Regions from separate parts of the Homo sapiens genome. Here region 2 is linked to region 1. The links are contacts of gene promoters, found by promoter capture Hi-C in blood cells and fetal thymus (Javierre and others, 2016). All regions are on one chromosome and are shown on one strand. The core of a region is centred on a gene start or on the middle of the fragment in contact, and the rest is flanking DNA. Distances in the headings are between cores, read along the strand shown. Region 1 holds the start of PIK3R4 (phosphoinositide-3-kinase regulatory subunit 4). Region 2 overlaps LOC107986023 (a long non-coding RNA gene).

Region 1 (3,155 bases), core at 401-2,900:
AAACAACTCAAATGTCTATTAACTAACAAAAGGGTAAACAAAATTATTTGCAACAACAAATAAATGAAGTACTAATACAAGCTACAATAGGGATAATCCTCAAAAACATTACCCAAAGTGAAAGTCAGTCACAAAGACCACATATTATATATAAAATGTCCAGAAAAGGCAAGTGTATACAAACAGAAAGTAGATTAATGATTGCCTAGGGCTGGAAGGGGGAGGAGAAATGGGGGAGAACAGGGAGTGACTCCGAATGGTTTCAGGGTTTCCTTTTGGGGTAATGAAAATGTTTAAAATCAGGCAGGCTGGGCGCGGTGGCTCATACCTGTAATCCCAGCACTTTGGGAGGTCGAGGCGGCGGATCACTTGAGGTCAGGAGATCCAGACCATCCTGGCCAACATGGTGAAACCCCATCTCTACAAACAATACAAAAACTAGCGGCCGGGCGCGGTGGCTCACGCCTGTAATCCCAGCACTTTGAGAGGCCGGGTGGATCACGAGGTCAGGAGATCGAGACCACGGCGAAACCCCGTCTCTACTAAAAAAAAAATACAAAAAATTAGCCCGGCGCGGTGGCGGGCGCCTATAGTCCTAGCTACTCGGGAGGCTGAGGCAGAAGAATGGCGTGAACCCGGGAGGCGGAGCTTGCAGTGAGCCGAGATCGCGCCACTGCACTCCAGCCTGGGCGACAAGAGCGAGACTCCGTCTCAAAAAAAAAAAAAACAAAAACCTAGCTGGGCGTGGTGGCACGTGCCTGTGGTCCCAGCTACTCTGGAGGCAGAGGCATGAGAATCGCTTGAACCCGGGAGGTGGAGTTTGCAGTAAGCCGAGATGGCACCACTGCATTCCAGCCTGGGTGACAGAGCCAGACTGTCTCCAAAAGAAAAAAAAAAAGGCCGGGCGCGGCGGCTCACGCCTGTAATCCCAACACTTTGGGAGGCTGAGGCAGGCGGATCACGAGGTCAGGAGATCGAGACCAACCTGGCTAACACGGTGAAACCCCGCCTCTACTAAAAATACAAAAAAATTAGCCGGGCGTGGTGGCGGGCGCCTGTAGTCTCAGCTACTCGGGAGGCTGAGGCAGGAGAATCGCTTGAACCCGGGAGGTGGAGGTTGCAGTAAGCCGAGATCGCTCCACTGCACTCCAGCCTGGGCGACAGAACGAGACTCAGCCTCAAAAAAAAAAAAAAAAAAAAAAAAAAAAAAAAAAAAAAAAAAAAAAATTAAAATCAGATTATAGGGATGATTGCACAACTCGATAGATGTATTAAAAACTACTGCTTTGTACATTTTAAGCAGGTGAACTTTATGGTATGTAAGTTATATCTCACCAGAACTCTAAAAATCCAGCTTGGGATATATTAGTTTTCCTAAATATTCTTGAGTTCTCTTAACTCTGTTCTGCTGTCCTGGGAGTGAAGGCGTGTCTGAGCAGATTCTAGGGGATGTCAGAAACCTCAGCGTTCGTGAATGAAAGGTAGAAGAGCAGGAAGGGGAATAGATCTTTGTCAGAGCATCATTTTCTCCCTGTAGACTCGCCCAAAGTAAGACCACGCCTTCCCTAGTTTCCTAGCAACCGGTTTCCTACCCTGGCAATTCCTCAAGGCTCACTCTTTTTCGTCACTTCCGCTCGGCGACAGGAAGTGAGGTCAGACCGGTTGCTTTCCCGGGAGTTCGGCGTTTGCTGGGGCTGCAGCAGCTGAAGTGTAGTGTTTTCTTGGGACTGGCGGTCTGCACTTCTCTCCCGGGTTCCATCTCCCCCCGCCCGGTGGTGAGGCCCTCGAGGAGGGCTCGGACGGGTGTAGCGATCCGCGCTAGAGGAAGACGAGGCCCGGGAACGCATGTCCCCCAGGGCAGGTTAGGGGGCTGGAGGGGTCAAATCCCGGGGTACTTGTGGAGACTCTTTAGCGTGGCTTCTTCTCTCTGCTGAGACCCCGAGAGCTTTCCCAGTTCTCCTCCCAGGACCACCGGGGTTCCTGAAGATCGGGACTTTTCTGCGCCCCTCCACCAACAGCCCATCTCCTGTCTATGAAGAAAGACCCTTCGTAGAAACAACTTCCCCGCTGCTGACGCGTTTTCCCGTCCCGTCCCCGAAGTAGTCTACTATGACCTCGTTGTGAGCCTCTGAACGATTTTGACACTTTCCCGAGGCCTAGGGTAAATGTTTATGTGTGCTCAAGGTCGTGTGTGTATATGTGTGGCATTTATTTCCTGCAAAACCTGAGTTAGCAGAACCCTGGGGTACGTTTAGCTAGTGTATACTTTGGTCTGCTTTTCTTTAACATCTGTGGCAAGGTTTCTTGTTGCAGACCAGCGAAGTTTGCACCTTCTTTTAGCTGGGTGAGAGGGCACACTGGAATTAGGCAGGAAGTGTCCAGGAGTTAACTGAATTTTTAGATCTTAGTTTGACCTTTTCAGTTTTCAGTTTTTCTTTTTTTTTTTTTATTTTTTGAGACGGACGGAGTCTCGCTCTGTCACCCAGGCTGGAGTGCGGTGGCGGGATCTCCACTCACTGCAACCTCTGCGTCCTGGGTTCAAGCAATTCTGCGTCAGCCTCACGAGTAGCTGGGATTACAGGCACCCACTACCACGCCCGGCTAATTTTTGTATTTTTAGTAGAGACGGGATTTTAACCATGTTGGCCAGCCCCGTCTTGAGCTCCTGACCTCGTGATCCTCCCGCCTCGGCCTCCCGAAGTGCTGGGATTACAGGCGTGAGCCACCGCGCCCGGCCAGTTTTAAGCTTTTAATGTGTCTCTTTCTTATTTCCAAGAAACTACAGATTCTTGGACAAGAACTATGTCATATGGTAACTTTGTAATTCTCATAGCCCCAAGCACAGCACGGAACACATAGTAAAGGCTCATTAATATTTTAAATTTAAATATGAGAAAATAACACAAACTAACATTTTTGGCTTAAAGTTGAAGAGGCCTATCTAAATATAGTTCAGCTCCTGGAAATGGCGATGCGCAATAGCAGGGTATTTTTAGGTAAAATAACAAGGTCTTCTTGGAGAAAATAACATGGTCTTTTTAGATAAATGTGTGTGAAATTTAGAGGCTGCCCCAGAAGGCTAGGTACAGTGCTGTTAGTGGAAGAGAAGTATGCTGCATCTGTCTTTTTGGAAGAGACCAAATAATGGAATAATG
Region 2 (3,155 bases), core at 490-2,989, 120 kb before region 1:
TCTCAGTTGCTACATCACTTTAATCAGCTATCGAAGATGATATAAACATAAGAACATATTTTAGATTATATTCTTAGGGCCAAGACATTGCTTAAAGATTTTTTTTTTTTTTTTTTTTGAGACAGAGTTTCACTCCTGTTGCCCAGGCTGGAATGCAGTGGCATGATCTCCGCTCACTGCAACCTCTGCCTCCCAGGTTCAAGCAATTCTCCAGCCCCAGCCTCCAGAGTAACAGGGGTTATAGGCACGCGCCAGCACGCCTGGCTAATTTTTGTACTTTTTAATAGAGATGGGGTTTCACCACATTGGCCAGGCTGGTCTGGAACTCCTTACTTCAGCTGATCCGCCGGCCTCTGCCTCCCAAAGTTTGGGATTATAGGGGTGAGCCACCGCCCCTGGCCTAAAGATTTCTTACTAAGCATTAAGTAACACTAGGCATCAGCCAAGGTGAATGAAAATGGTCAATTAAGAACCTGTGAAACTCTAAGTCATCATTAGTATCCCTCTGGCTTTGACAATGACTTACCATCTTCTAAGCAGCATACATGCTATTCTTGAGTAGGTATGACAAGCCCTGTCAGCTTTGATTTTGGAAATATACATCATCAAATGATCTGCAACAGTGGTTCTGAAAGTGTGGTCCCTCCCACCTGGAATTTTTTTAGAAATGCAGACTCTTGGGCCCCACCTCAGTCCTACTGTATTAGAAACTCTGGAGGTGGGGCCCAGCATTCTGTTTTAATTAGTCCTTTAGGTGATTCCAATGCATGCTAAAGTTTCAGCACTGTTTACAAGAAGCATTAAGCTTTCATCTAAAAATATTTTGATCATGCCAATAGTACTCAATTCTAAGAGTGAATAAGAATGTACAGGGATAACTCAGAGATATTGTGAGCTTGGTTTGAGACCACCACAATAAAGCAAATATCACAATACAGAAAGTCACACAAATTTTTTGGTTTCCCAGTGCATACAAAATTTATGTTTACACTGTATTGTAGTCTATTAAGTATTCAATAGCAAGTCTAAAAAAATGTATATACCTTAGTTAAAAAATACTTTATTGCTAAAGAATGTTAATGATCATCTGAACCATCAATGAGTCATAATATTTTGGCTGGTAGGGGATCTCGCCTTGACGTTAATGGCTATTGACTGATCAGGGCGGTGGTTGCTGAAAGTTGAAGTGGCGGTGGCAATTTCCTAAAATAAAACAATAATAAAGTTTGGTGCATCAATTGACTCTTCCTTGCACAAATGATTTCTCTGTATTGTCTGATGCTGTTTAGTAGCATAGTAGAACCTCTTTCAAAATTGGAGTCAGTCCTCTCAAACCCTGCCACTGCTTTATCACCTCAGTTTATAAAATACTCTAAATCCTTTGTCATCATTTCAACAATGTTCACAGCATATCTACCCAGCAATAGGTTCTATCATAAGAAAACATTTTCTGTGTTTTCTTATGAGGAAGCAATTCCTCATCTGTTCAACGTTTATCATGAAATTGCAGCAATTCAGTAACATCTTCAGGATCCACTTCTAGTTATCTTGCCCTTTCTACCACATCTGTACTTACTTCCTCCACTGAAGTCTTGAATCCCTCAAAGTCATCCATGAGGGTTGGAATCAACTTCTTCTAAACTCCTGTTAATGTTGACACTTTGTCCTCCTTTCATGAATCACAAATGTTTTTAGTGACACCTAGAATGGTGAATCCTCTCTGGAAAGTTTTCAGTTTACTTTGCCCAGATCCATCAGAGGAATCACTATCTATGGTAGCTATAGCCTTATGAAATGTGTTTCTTAAATAATAAGACTTGAAAGTTAAAATTCTTCCTTGATCCATGGACTGCAGAACAGACAGCAGACATGAAAACATTATTCTCCTTTTACCTCATGTCAGAGCTCTTGGGTGACTAGCTGCACTGTGAAGAGCAGTAATATTTTGAAAGGAATCTATTTTTTTTTTTGAGGTCTCAACAGTGGGCTTAAAATATTCAGTAAGCCATGCTATAAATGGATCTGCTGTCCTACAGGCTCTGTTGTTCCATTGATAGAGCACAAGCAAAGTAGATTTAGCATCATTCTTTAGGGACCTAGAATTTTCAGAATGATAAATCATCATTGGCTTCAACTTAAAGTCAACAGCTGTACTGGTTCCAAACAAGAAAGTCAGCCTGTGGCTTTTTATCCACATTGAAAATCTATTATTTAGTATAGCCACCTTCATCAATGATCTTAGCTAGGTCTTCTGGATTACTTGCTGCCACTTCTCCATCACTCCTTGCTGCTTCACCTTGTACTTTTATGTTATGGAGATTGCTTCTTTCCTTAAACCTCAAGAACCAACCTCTGCTATATTCAAACTTTTCTTCTGCAGCTAACCCTCCTCTCTCAACCTTCACAGAATTCAAGAGAGTTAGAGACTTACTCTGAATTAGACTTTGGCCTAAAGGAATGGTATGCCTGGTTTGGTCTTGTATCCAGACCGCTCAAACTTCCTGCACATTAGCAAAAATACTGTTTAGCTTTCTTATCATTTGTGTGTTCACTGGAGTAGCACTTTTAATTTCCTTCAAGAATTTTCCTTTGTATTGACAACTTGGCTAACTGATGCATGAGGCCTAGCTTTCAGCCTACCTCAGCTTTCAACATGCTTCCTCATTAAGCTTAATCATTTCTTTTTTTTTTTTTTTTTTTTTTTTTTTTTTATTTTTTATTGATCATTCTTGGGTGTTTCTCGCAGAGGGGGATTTGGCAGGGTCATAGGACAATAGTGGAGGGAAGGTCAGCAGATAAACAAGTGAACAAAGGTCTCTGATTTTCCTAGGCAGAGGACCCTGCGGCCTTCCGCAGTGTTTGTGTCCCTGGGTACTTAAGATTAGGGAGTGGTGATGACTCTTAACGAGCATGCTGCCTTCAAGCATCTGTTTAACAAAGCACATCTTGCACCGCCCTTAATCCATTTAACCCTGAGTGGACACAGCACATGTTTCAGAGAGCACAGGGTTGGGGATAAGGTCACAGATCAACAGGATCCCAAGGCAGAAGAATTTTTCTTAGTACAGAACAAAATGAAAAGTCTCCCATGTCTACTTCTATCCATACAGACCCGGCAACCATGCGATTTCTCAATTTTTTCCCCACCCTTCCCG

The links. Contacts are between HindIII fragments. The CHiCAGO score rates a contact against its expected background, and 5 or more counts as called.
Region 2: a fragment that was not itself captured here is called in contact with the fragment with the promoter of PIK3R4 in region 1 in 2 of 17 cell types (megakaryocytes and erythroblasts); the score reaches 8.0 in megakaryocytes.

The regions. Positions count from the first base shown.
Region 1 is chr3:130,745,324-130,748,478 of GRCh38, reverse strand. PIK3R4 (phosphoinositide-3-kinase regulatory subunit 4) reads left to right here and starts at 1,650. Exons shown (of 20, transcript NM_014602.3): 1 at 1,650-2,161. RefSeq lists a silencer at 626-675 and an enhancer at 1,910-1,969. The HindIII fragment of the contact is 4,673 bases long and covers 1-2,748 here.
Region 2 is chr3:130,868,986-130,872,140 of GRCh38, reverse strand. All of the region lies in intron 1 of LOC107986023 (a long non-coding RNA gene), which reads left to right. It also overlaps a transcript of ATP2C1 not described here. Among named protein-coding and RNA genes, the nearest start is that of ATP2C1, 24 kb to the left of the region's middle. RefSeq lists an enhancer at 2,457-3,155. The HindIII fragment of the contact is 1,864 bases long and covers 808-2,671 here.